Linked DNA regions of Homo sapiens: region 1 is linked to region 2. Evidence: promoter capture Hi-C in human tissues and cell types (Jung and others, 2019). All regions are on one chromosome and are shown on one strand. The core of a region is centred on a gene start or on the middle of the fragment in contact, and the rest is flanking DNA. Distances in the headings are between cores, read along the strand shown. Region 1 has its middle 30 kb from the start of LINC00951. Region 2 holds the start of APOBEC2 (apolipoprotein B mRNA editing enzyme catalytic subunit 2).

Evidence for each region. The method cuts DNA at HindIII sites, captures the fragments that hold promoters and counts their contacts. A contact is called where the count stands out against the background at its distance.
Region 1: a fragment that was not itself captured here is called in contact with the fragment with the promoter of APOBEC2 in region 2 in 1 of the 25 tissues and cell types used here (dorsolateral prefrontal cortex).

The regions. Positions count from the first base shown.
Region 1 is chr6:40,322,937-40,329,658 of GRCh38, reverse strand. No RefSeq gene overlaps it. Among named protein-coding and RNA genes, the nearest start is that of LINC00951, 30 kb to the left of the region's middle. The HindIII fragment of the contact is 3,516 bases long and covers 3,365-6,722 here.
Region 2 is chr6:41,049,970-41,056,277 of GRCh38, reverse strand. It overlaps APOBEC2 (apolipoprotein B mRNA editing enzyme catalytic subunit 2), which reads right to left and starts at 3,076. Exons shown (of 3, transcript NM_006789.4): 1 at 2,800-3,076. The coding sequence starts at 2,930. The HindIII fragment of the contact is 7,265 bases long and covers 2,138-6,308 here.

The DNA of each region.
Region 1 (6,722 bases), core at 3,873-6,372, 730 kb after region 2:
TGCGCAGGTTCCTCCATCTTCCTGAGCCCCTGGTTTCTCATCAGCAAAATGGGAATAATAACAACCTGAATCAGGAGGTCACCATCCAGGGAACACCATGAGGACTGAGTGATAGCACCTTCGCCCAAGCCCGGACACTCCGCTCCTCCCCAGAGAAAAGGAGGAGGGCAGGGCTGCAGGAGGGCCTGGGAACTCTGCTAGGCTTCTTAGGGTAGCACTGAAAGCTCCCACAGTTGGGCATTCCTCAGACCAGGAAAGGAGAGGAACAGAACCTGGTGCCTGGAATATGACAAAGTCAACTTACCCTATGTTCCACTCTAAATCTTTCATGCCTCCCAACCTCTGCTCATGCTGATCCCACTCCCGGGCTTGCTGTTCCTGCCTCCTGATTTGCCCTTGTCTCCCTCACCTGCTGCTTCCTACTCACCTTTCAGGAATCCTCTAGGAATCTTCCCTGAGCCCCTGGTGAAGTTGGGGGCAGGGAGCCCCTCTTGGCTGTTACATCAGCAGGCTGCATTTCTCTACCCTCCTGGGCTCACCTACTGCACAGTAATTACCTGTCTCCTCTTTGAGACTAAGAAGTGGGCAGGTAGGGGTCTTATTCACCTTTGAATCCCCAGCAGCTGGCAGAGTGCCAGGCACTTATTTTTACCTACCTTTTCCCTTGTAAACCTTTTGACATAAACCTCTTAGATTATCCTGGGATTTCCTAGTTGGCTCCTTTCTGCCAAGTGCGATCTGGCAGGACTATAAGGAAGGCAGAGGTAGGAGTGGGCTGGAGAGCTGGGGTGGCAGTGAGGGCATGGTGCCCTCTTGCGGCCAGGTGCAGGGGTGGCTGCAGCATCCTTACGGAAGAAAGGGAGGAGAGGACAGGTGGGCCGGTGAGCTAGATAAGATAGAGGAGGGTCTCTAGGAACAAGTAGAGGAGTGGGGAGATCACTGCATTGGCAGTTTCCCCAGCACAGCTAGGAGTGGTCCTTCTTCCATAGATCCCAGTGAGGGGCTGTGGCTTAGCTTAAAAGCATGAGAAAAGTTGGAGGAAGCCCAGAGACTGCTCCCTTGTGGAGAGGAGGACGCCACTTGGAGGTGCGTCAGGGAAATGCTTAGGCAGGAGGATGGACGCAGAGGTCCTAGAGGTGTGTGACCTGGGAGAGGGACATTGGTGCAAGGCTCCTGCTCACACATTGATGGAAGCCTGAGAATCGAGAGGCCCTCCAGCGAGGGAAACCAGACCGGCTTTCTCCGGCAGGGAACGCATACTTGGAAGCCTCTTGATCCTCCTCTCTGCTCCAGCCCTTACCGTGAGTAGGTCTTCAGCACACTGGATACCATTTTGTGCTTTGAGATGTTGGTGAGGGACCTGGAGGGGGCTCAGGCATCCTCTGGGGTATACACATCTGTTTCCAGGTGACATCTCTAGGACATCACACCCCGTTCACAGTACCTCCTCTATCTGCCCCCAGAACCCCACTCTTCCTGTGGTTTCAGAGATTAACTGGCGGAAGGGGCAGGTGAGAATGTAGGAAGTGGGGAAATCTAGGGAAGGTGGGTGGATGAAGCCAGCCAGCTAGGAAAGTGCTGACCCCAAAGGAGCCCCCCATGAGAGGCCCCCCTCAGCAGCCCTGCCTCCCACACCAGCCCTCTACCCTTAGCTCTCTCTAAAACAACAGAAAATCTTGCCTGGCTCCTCTCACCACCCAGCCCAAGAGAGGGAAAGCTTTCTTTTCTCTTTTCCTTCCTGCCCCTTCCCCATTTCTGGCCCCATCACCCCTTTCCAGGCCTCTATCCTTCTGTGTTCATCCTGACCTCTTCCCTGGCCTCGTGGCTCTCACTTTGAGAGTCAAACATGAGCTGGTTGGAGGAACACTGGGTCAGACATCCAGGGACCTGGGTATGCTGCTGATTTCACCACTGATGTTCTAATTTCTGAAAGCTCCCCAGAGCTCAGTGTCTTCACTTGCAAAGGGTTGGGAGGTTGGATTGGATAATCTGCCACAATCCTTTTAGTTCTGACATCCTGGGATGCATTAGGCTCCGTCAATCCTTGGCGACCCCTTTCCTAAAGCTGATCCCAGGGTCATAGTTAGAATGCATCAACTGCCTTAACTGATGTGAGACATTTCCTAGGGATATAGCCATATGGGAGATAACCTAGAGGAAATGTGAAAAGTATCCAATTCCTGAAACATCACTGTTTCCTCATGCCATGTGAGGAATCCCCACCCACAGAAGTCATCTGCTCCAGCCCCTGCATCAGGCCCAGAAACCAGAGCAGACAGACCCTGCTCACACTCTTTCCTTGCTTGTCATATGACCCAGGGACAGTATCAGATAGTTCCTGCCTTTACAGCCCTCTAGGACTTCACATTTCCAGTCATCCTCATGCCTGGCCCCTTGTGGGACAAGGGAGGGGTCTACCAGGGCCTCCTGAGCAGGGGGGCAGCCAAGGGAAGTACTTAGTTCACCAGAAGCCTTCATCAAGTTTCACTTCCTGGAGTCTAACTTAAACCTTTCTTGCTGCTGTATAAATCAATGTCCCCCAGTTCTGGCTTCCCCACCCTCCTCAAACTAAAGAGCTGCTCATTTGCATACAGCTGCCTCTCCCAGACCCATTTAACTCCCACCTCTCCTGGACTTTTCCTACAGGTTCTATTTTTTTCAACCTTTCATCATTTCTCCTATTGGCTCTGGCTGTGCTCCAGAGCTTCCAAATCCTTCTTAAATGTGACAGCTAAAATTAGATGCCGGGAGAAGGCCAAGTGCAGTGGGATGATCACACCCTGCCTGGCATGTGCCGATTCCTCCTTCCTGGGTCCTGTCCCAGCATGGAAGAGGCTGGTCCTTCCCTAAGGATGTTATTAGACTCCCAGTCCCCTATGATCCTGGGTCCCGTTGGGTTTCTCCTCACCTCCCCCTGGATTGATGAGGCTTGTGTTGAATTTCTACAAGCCTTGCCTTGTATTTCACCCATCCTGAATGGATCATTTTTCTAATCTGTCAAGGTTTCCCTGAATTCTATTTCCGCCCTCTTGGACTGGGTGTTTTCCTTCTGGTGCTCCAGGATAAACCATGATCTCATTCTAAGATGTTCTTAGCTGGTCCTGGGTTATTCATTAGTTCACTCACTTGTTCATTTAGTCAACAACTATTTACTCAGTTTTTCTTTTGTGCCAGCTACTGTGCCAGGCTTGGGGATGCCTCCATGGAGATTGCAGCCTTAAACTGGACAAGGGCCACTCAGGGGCCTGTGGAAGAATATAAGAGGGGTCTCACTCTGTTTCTGGGAGAAATCATTATAGCATATAGCAACTGTGTTTTGGTAATACCAGGCTATGATGTGTTTTTATTGTTGTTGTTGTTGTTTGTGTGTTTTTAAAATTAACCTCTGAATCTTGGTATCTTAATACAATAAAAATTTACTTTTTGCACATGTAAAGTCCAGTGTAGGATGTCTGATTCTCCAAGGCAGCTGTCCTCTCCTTGAGGATCCCTTCTGTCCACTGATGTCATGTCAACATGAGTGGGCTTCAGCTTACTGTAGCAGGAAAAGGAGAACTTGGAGAACTCACACCTGGTTTTAAGTGCCTTGGACCAGAGGGGATCCACTGCCCACAGCCCATTGGCCAGAACGGGTCACATGGATGGGTTAACTTCACCTCAAGGGAGGCTGGGAGATATAACCTTGCCACGTGCTCAGACAGAGGAAATGGGGAGGTGAACACAGAGCATTGTCTCTGCCATAGCAACTCAAGTGGCTGGATCCCAGAGAGAAAAGGTCGGGAGTGGCCATTACCTCCAAGATATAGGTTTAAGAACATGGTAGGAGGGGTTCCCAGAAGGTGAAGAAGATGAAAAGAAATGTGGGAACAGGGTGAAAGAGGTGGAGAGGAAGCAGAGGCGCTGTTACCCACAACCCCTCCCTCGCTTCACACTGACTGATTCCAGCAGCCAGGGACCACACCTTTTTCCTCAGCCACCTGTCTGCAAAGCAGCTCTTGGTCCTACAGAGGAGGGCTGGGACAGAAAGCCAGAGAGATCCTACCCAGGATGGGCAGTCAGGGTAAAATCCTTGGCTGCATCCCTAGCCAGGTCCCAAACCAGGTCCCCAACCAGGTCCCTAACCAGGCTGCGGGATCCTGAAGAAGTTGCTTCACAATCTCAGTACACAGTGGTCTGGAAATTCCCTGGTATTGGTCTCCTGCCTGTTTGTCCTCAAGGCCCTTCCTCGAAACATACAACCACCCACCCTCCTCTGCAACTCCAGACTCTATGCCTGTTGGGTTCTGTTTCCCTTGGGGGAGTTTAGGGTTTGGGGGAGAAGCTGCAGGTGTCTTTCCTGCTCTCCTTTCTGGGGAGGCTCCTCTGGCAGTGGCCTCAGCTCCTGACCTGTAGGCTGGCATGGTTCCAGCTCTCATGGGTGGCCCTGGCTCCCAGGCACTGTCAACACCACTCCCCTGCCACCAGCCCTCGAGCTGGCAGGAGCTTCTTGAGGTTGCTGATTTTGAAGTTTCTTCACTGTCCCACTTGGCTCTTGGCCCCTCCAACACCTATAACCAGGTCACTGCATTACCTTCCTTCTGTCATGTCCTGCCATTAACTTGATTTCTGTTTTCCTGTTTAGACCCTGACTGCTGTACCATCTACATGGCAAGACCCTGGTGGGGGAGAGGGAAGGAACAAGAGGAGAGAGAGTGGATGCTAACTGAGGCAGAGAATATGAAAAACAGAAATCAGATACCATCGGTGGTCTCCTTCCTACCCAGCCTTTGTGATCTCCACCACCTGCACTCACCTTCCAAAGGGCTGTGTCCTCCACATCGGCCCTTGGCCATGGAGGGCAATAAACATGCATCAGGGCAAGATCTAGCTGCTGCCCTCCTGGGTGGGTCCCAAGGCAAATGGTAAGATAGGCAGAGTTGAGCCCTCCAAGTGAGAACAGAATTTTTCTAGAACTTCCCGCAGGCAAGGCCTGTGTTGCCTCATCCATTCATAACCCCTGTGCTGGGGAAGCTTTGGGGGAGATGTTTTGGAACAGGTAGGGCTTCGCTGCATCACAAAAATCACCCCCAGGAAGGCGACCAGCTTCTCAGCCAACTCGGTGGACTAAAGCTGCACATCCATCCAAGCCCAGCTTATGGCGGCCCCAGCAGCACAGGCAGCAGACAGCCTGAGTTCTCTGTATGCAGAAGAGCAGCTCTGAGGTGGGGCAATAAATAAAATCAGAAACCGTAAATAAACCTGCTGGCCTCACACAGGGTGAACAAGCAGCCCCCTGGGGAGCTGGGCTCTGCTTCCAAGGAGGTGATTAAATTCCAAACCACCCCAGCAACTTCCATTGGAAAGTCAGGGCCGGGACTCTGGGCTGGGGGAGAGGGATACAATCATAAAATATTAGAAAACTGAGATCTTAGAGTGAGGATCAAAACTTTAAAATTGTAAGGGATCTTCTCAGTGGCTCTCAACCCTGACTGTGCATTACAATCACCAGAGGTGATTTGTTTAAACATAGCAATGCCAGACACCACCCCTCCCAGTCCCTGCAGAAATTCACTCCTTAGGCTGGATGGGGGCTGAGCACCTCAGATGATTACAAAATATTCCCCAGGCCAGACGCTCTAAGCTCTGCCGCTAGGGAACTCAGGGGTTCCCAGAGCAAGGTCAAGGGTTTCCTCCACTAAAATTGAATCATGCAGCTCTTTTTTTCAGTGCACAAAAGAAATCAAGTTAATGAATAGAATGTTCTGTATTTAAAGTCCTCCCCCTATAAATTTTTCTCTCCTTTTGGCACCTGCTGCTGCATGCTTGCCAGTATATTGGTGAAAAAACAATAGGAACAGAAAATCTCAGAGGCCACTGATCATGTCTGCTTTGATGGCTTTTTTTTAATTAAAGGTAACATTTCTAGGCAATATAAGCTTTGGATAACTAAATCAGATAGCAGTCCCCTCGAATCCTCTTTAGAGCAAAGTGGGTTAGGTGTAAATAAATAGGATTCCATCTTTTGCTGAACCTCAACTTCTAGGTGGTACAGCTCCACCAGGGGTCAAGATCACAACTCCCAGAACTAGCCTGTTGAGGGGTGAATGTCAACTCTACTGCAAATGAGACACCTGGCCTTGGGTAAGCTAACTAGCGTCTCTGGGCCTCAGCTTCCTCATATAAGGAACAGGGATAAGACATAGTCCTCACCTCATGTGGCTGTTGTAAGTACTAAATAAGTCTGTATATTTAAAGCTCTTTCAGCAGCACCTGGCAGTAATGCTATTTAGCTGAACACATTTGAGACTCCGTGGGAGTGTGGGACAGCAGAGTTAGTACCTTCAGAGAGGATGCTTTAGTCAATAAATTCGGTTTTCTTCCATTACTTTTTAATCACCCATTAACACATGGATCATTCTCATTTTTAAAATCCAAACGATATAGCAGATTAGAGTATTAAAAAGTAACAATTCTTCAGTAGTGACATCCCACCCTGATCCTGCTTCTTCCTGGGGGTGGGTAACCACTGTTCCCCTAGTGGTATATACCTCTTGCTGAAGCTTTTCCTGGTATGTTTACAGTCCTGGGAACACACAGGAGACTAAGACATATCCTGTTTTCTAGGGACTTACATTCTGGAAGGACAGACAGACAAGAAAACAAAGCACAAGAGAGAGTGGGGACTGGTAGGAAGAGGCATCTAATAAGAGGAAGCACATGCAATTTCTGACTTTACCTGTGAG
Region 2 (6,308 bases), core at 1,827-4,326:
TGGTGGCATGCACCTGTAGTCTTAGCTACTTGGGAGGCTGAGGCAGGAAGATCACCTGAGCCCGGGAGGTTGCGACGACAGTGAGCTGTGATTGCACCACTGCACTCCATCCTGGGCAACAGAGCAAGAAGCAAGACCCCATCTCCAAAAAAGAAAAAGGAAATTGATGTATGATACATATGATGCCTTCTCCAGGCCTCAAATTGTATCCTTCAGAGCTCCGTCTTAAGCATTACCAAACCTGATCCCTTTCCCACTGCTCTTCCTCTCACTTTCAGAGGTTTCTGGTTTTCAATGGTGTGCTGATAAGTGTAACACTCATCTCTCTGATAGAAGGAAGAATCCCCAATTTCTAAAGTTTGCTGATTTCCATAAGGTAAGTACTCCCATTACAGAGATTTCAAGCTCCCGAGGTGATATCACTGGATGCAGAGTAGGGAAGAGACTTGTGAACCAACAGGAACTGGCTTCAGCACGCTACGGCAGGCTTAGGCCCTTTTCCAGAACATTCTACCATGTTATTTTGTTAATGTGCTCAGTTCCGCTTTCTATCCTGAATGCCCTATTCAACCAGAATCGCTATGAGCTGGGCATCTCTCCTTCCTACCAGCTACCCTCCTCATGTCGGACTGTTTCCGGAAAAGCTACCTGCTCTTCTGCTAGTTTTTGGCCCAAATATAAGGAGCACTAAAGATCTTCCCTATAGGAGACCAGGCTAGAAAAGCTGCTTTGCTGACCCCCTTGACTCCAGGAGGGAGTCCTGGGGGGAATGCATCTCAAGAGGGAAGGAGAGGAAAGCTATTCCCTCACCCTCTCCCTGCACAGACCCAGCTGCACCTCTGGGCTATTTTAAGCCATCTGTTTACCCAGAGGGGCCCAGGAGACAGCTCTCTACAGCTGTTACTTGTGGCCAGGAAACACTCAGCGCTCTGCTCCCACCTGAACTGTTCACAGAATGCTCAGAACGTTGCCCCTTCTGTGCCCCTTTTTCTGAGCCTTGGGTCCTCACTACCTCCCAGATAGAGATAACGTGGAGCTCTGGGAAACCTGGGATCCAGAATGAATAAGAAACCAGTAGAAAGGATACTTTGCTGGGAGTAAGAAGATGTGCCACCTACCAGTTCTGTGGTTTTGGACATACCATTCAATCTCTCTGAGTCTCAGTTTCCCCCTCTGTAAAGTGGCAATAATATATCTCCCTCTCCTACCTTTGTGCTGAGTGTTGAATGGTCTCATGTTCATGAAACTATGTTGTGATTATAAAGCCCTGGACAAATGTAAGTTATATCAGTGGACTTAACCCTTCAGGATCCATTGCTCTGGGACCCCCAAAGCATGTTCAGCTGAACAAACATAGTCTAATTCTGTTCTTGACCTACCCTCCCTCTGTGTTGGAAAGCCACACAAGAGTGTAGTGTGCACACGCGTGTGTGTATGACTAAGGATAGCGTATACCAGCATGCTTAGGTGTTAGAAAAAGGCTCTCCTTCCATAAGAAAGCCACTGGAATTGAGGACTCTCCTGGCCAGGCTGCCTTAGGCTTTCCCTGTGTCTATATTAATCTGTGCCCAGCTGCTCCCTTAATCCTAGGATGAGGGTGAGATTAGTTGGGTGGGCATGGGCAAATGGAAATTCAGGGGCTACTCTTGCCTCAGGAAATAGGATGCATTTTCCCTTAGGTTCTCTTGAAAATCAGAAAACATCTGAGCTGGAAGGGACCTTACTACTATAGATCTTCATGTTATAAGTGCTAAAACTGTGGCTGACTGGAAAATCACTTGTCAAGCTTGAAATATCAAGTCCAAATTGCCACTCAGGGCTTCCTTTCCCCCTTGAAAGCATCATGCCTCCTTTCTTCCTGAAACTTCTCTTAGTCTCGCACCCACTCTGCCTGTGGTCATTCCTGGAGACCCCATGAAGGGAACGTTTGGTTCAAGGAGGAAATATGGCCTCATAGATTCTCTTTTTATTCTTTGCTCAGGATTTAGAAGGGTCTTCCACTACAGGAATAGAAAGGGAAGAGGAAGAAGACTACTTAGTTTTATTCCTGGAGATGGCATAATCTGGATAAGACAGAGGTACCCTGCACACAGCCCCCTCCTTGCAGTCTGTAGACCCTTTTCTTTGGGTCCCAGTTCCTCCAGGCAATGCCTGAGCATGTTGGAACAGCTCCTGTGTCCATAAGCTCCTGGGCTGCGTTATCTGCATGTAATTTCTCTGTTTCTCTGTGGGACAGCCCCTGAGGAGACTCAAAAGATTTAATAAGAAAAAAGCTGCTTCTGAGTCTTGGGAAAGGATGGATCTATCTTTCCTGTCTTGGGAGCATCTACTCCAGGAAGAAGCTCTAAAGAAAGGGCTAGAGGCCTATGGCTAGCGGAGAGACCCACTCAGGAACAGAGAAGTTGAGGGGAAGGGTTGCTTTGAACGGAGCCACATATAGATGTGCCAGTCTCATCCTCTGTCCTCGCCAAACTCCCTGGGACTAAGCTTCTACCCAGAGAGGCAGGTGGCCATCCCAATACCAGGAGGCCTGAAGGGTGGTTTTATTCTCTGGGCTTTTGCCTCCAAGGAGCTCCTCCTACCTCTCCCTGATTAGAGAGCCCAAGGTGTCACCCTGAGAAGCCAAGAGAATTTGCTGCTGGGTCCCCTACCACCCCTGCCGGGCCCACTGGTGCACTCTCACTGCTGCAGGGTTGTAGCTGTCCCTGACGCCTAATATAACCATCCTGAATTTCCACAGCCTAACCCAAGGCTGCACTCTTCTAGGGAGCAGAACCCTGACCCACATCTGAGGCTTACCCTGTGACAATCTCAAAGGGCGGCAGCTCAATCAGCTCTTTCAGCTTCTCAGGGTCGTCCAGGTTCTCCAGATCCTCCCCATTCTGGGAGGCAGCCTCAGTGGCCACAGCAGCCTCTTCCTTCTGGGCCATGGAGGGGCTGTGGCTCAGGAGTCACTGAGGGAGAGGAGAGAGGCAGGCAGGTCTGGGCCAGGCCCTGGCGGCAGAGTCCCAAGCAGCTGTCAGCAGCTAAATCTGGCTGGGGATGACGGGAAAAGGACCCAGCAGGCCAGGCTTCGTGCTTTCCCCACTTAGCCACAGGCTTTATAGCCAAGGCCTCCTGCCCCTCCCCCAGGCTCTCTCCCTCTATCTTTTTTTAATTGAGTGACAGCGGGTGCTGGGGTGGGGGAATGGAAAATCTGGCCATTAGTATCCCCTATTTATCAGTAGGCAAAGACAGGAACCTGGCAGGTGGGTATGGCTTGGCCTGCTCTCTTCTCCCTCTCCCTCTCAGCTCACCTTATGTTCTCCCCTTTGTTTCCCACCCAAATTCCCTAGCTCCACTGGGGGAGAGTGTGGAAGGGGCCCCAGGGCAGGCATCCTGAGATTTAGGAGGGTGGCCTTCTGAGATTTAAACAGGAGGAGATGTGTGTTGAAAGGGGCTGACTGCAAAAAGACCCAGGCCATTTGCTTTGGGGGAACGTGGGTTCAGGAAAGGAGGGGTCCTGGCAGAGGTGGGATCAAAACTGACAATTTGGGGAGTAAGTGTGTGAGTTATGACTCAAAAGCGGTGGGTGCTGATTTGCCTGTTACAAAGCCATAATGTAATGTCAAATCGATCAGGAGCCTCCCTGAGTAACAATAGCTGCCATTTACTTAGCTCAGAGATTTTGAAACAGGCCAGGCAGTGGGTTTAGGGGTTTAAATGAAATCAGATGCATGCTTGCCACAGCCATGGGAGGCGATGTGTATTATCCCAAGTTACAGGTAAACTGAGTCACAGAAGTGTGCAGAGCCGGGATTAAAATGCAGGCTTTTGTACTTCAGGCCAAATATTCAACCTCCATGCTATGTGCCCTCACAGTCAGTCTTTTATTCTTCTTAACAAATATTTATTGAGTATCTACTCTATGCCAGGTGCTGTTTCAGGTACTGGGAATATGGCAAAAGAACAAAGCAAATGAAAATCCCTGCTGTGATGATTTGTGGAGCTTGAGGAACTGAACAACAAATAAGGTAAGTAAAATACATGGTCTATTTTGTGATGACAAGTGCCAAGGAGAAAAGACAGGAAATGGAAACAGGAAGTGCTAAGAGGTGGGGTTACGTACTTATAGGATGGCCAGGGTGAAGGACTTTGAAAAGGAGACAATTGAAGAAGACGTGAAGAAGGCAAGGGAACTAATCATTTGGTTGTCTAAGAGGAAAGCGTTCCAAGGAAGGGAACAACGTGAGCAAAGGCTCTGAGAAGGGAGCATTCCTGGGGTGTTTGAGGAACTAGCGAGGACATACATCTGGGTGACTGAAGAGTTCTAAGAGATTAAGCCAGAGAGATAACAAGGGTAAAAGGGACTGGGGCCTTATGGGCTGTCATAAGTACCTTGCTTTTTCTCAGACTGAGGTGGGAAGCCATTGTCTCTGAACAGGTGAGACAGGTGGTCTGAGCACTTGGGAAGAGCAGAGGCAGGGGACCAGTGAGAAGCCTACTGAGGCCAGAGAGAGATGATGGGGGCCCATAGAAAAGACCCTGAGCCGGAACAGCAGCAGAGGATGGCTAGATGATTTTTGCAGCTCTCATGATGGGTACTTAGCAGAGGCAAAAGTCTTCGTGTTTGGAGCAGTGCAAACACTCTAGGCCATTCTCAGGGAAGCAGAAGGAAGGGGTCAGGGTCACTTGTAGGTTGAAAATGAGGAACCTAAGAACACTGGGGAACGGATCTGAAAACAGCTCCAAATGGGTTTGGCTGGTGGGGATGAGAGGGTAGGGCACCCTTTGGAGGGTCTGACTAAAGAAGAGGAGTCAAGATGGTTTGGAAGATTTAGGGCTCACTCCTCCAGAGAGTCTGAGCAGCAGAGTGCTCTGTTAGTGTGATGCCCAGCATTTTGGTTTGCCAGTCATGGTTTCTTCCTGTTGTCCAGACATAATTACTAATAGCACCCCTTTACTCCCAAAGGTGTCCCGCTGTGGACAATAAATTATATGGTCCCCTACCTTTTGGATTTACTACTAAAAGGATTATTATTATTTATTTTTTGAGATGGAGTCTCACTCTGTCACCAGACTGGAGTGCAGTGGCACGATCTTGGCTCACTGCAACCTCCGCCTCCCGAGTTCAACCGATTCTCCTGCCTCAGCCTCCAAAGTAGCTGGGACTACTGGCATGTGCCACCAGGCCCAGCTAATTTTTGTAATTTTAGTAGAGACAGGGTTTCACCATGTGGCCAGGATGGTCTCCATCTCCTGACCTCGTGATCCGCCTGCCTTGGCCTCCCAAAATGCTGGGTGGCATGAGCCACCGCGCCCAGCCACTGAAAGCATTTTTATCTGGATCTTATTTTTTCAAACATTTTTCGGGGGGAATAAAGCACTGAGTAGAGATAATAGTGCCTGTGTCCACAATAAAAAGACAGTGGCAGCTGATAAACTGCAAAGAATGTTGTTATCACACAAACATACCACGTTTAAATGTAAAGAGTTTACTTCATTTTCTTGTTCAGTCAACATTTATCAGAGGTTCCTATGTTCCAGGTGCGGTGGTAAATACCAAGAGTACAGAGATAAATAAGGTGCTGGCTCACCAGGGGATCCCAGCTTTTATCATATTTGGGGCATTAATCAAGCATTCAAGCATGCATTATCTCATTTAGTCCTTACACCAGTCTCACATGGGTGTGAATTATGGGCCTCATTTTGCAAGTTAGGGACTTGTGGCTGAGAAAGGTGAAGTGATTTGTATAAGATCACACGGGCTTTGAGTTCAGGTCTTCAGAGCCCAAGTTCAAGTTTAGCCTATTCCCAGGGCTGCGCACAGCTACCTTTGATGAAACATCTCTGAAGCATTATAAATGTGCATCCCTCTCACACTTCCCAGGCCCAGCTAGGGTGATATGCTTGGATCAACGGAGGAAGAGTAAAATGTCTTGGGGAGGAAAGCAAGGAGGATGGATCCTTTCAGTTCACTGTTCCCCTGCAAGAAAGACTTCCTCCCTGAGGACAGGGCCTTCTATTTTGGCTGTCATGTATAACCCTGGATTAGGAGGCAAAAAATATTCTACGTTCATATCCCCATCTTAGCCCGATTCACTGTGTGATCTTGGACAAATCACTTGACATCTCTGAGCCTCCGTTTTCCCATCTGTGACACAGGCTGTGCTATTGATTTCTATTTCCAAATGGTCAAAGGGCAGAAAATAGGGCGCCGAGTGGGCTTGTGAAGACCACAGGTGAATGGCGTGTCGAGAATTTCCTGCCTCTCCCAACAGCTCAGAGTGAATGGTGCCCAGGTGGTCTCAGGCTGGTCCTTAAGAGTT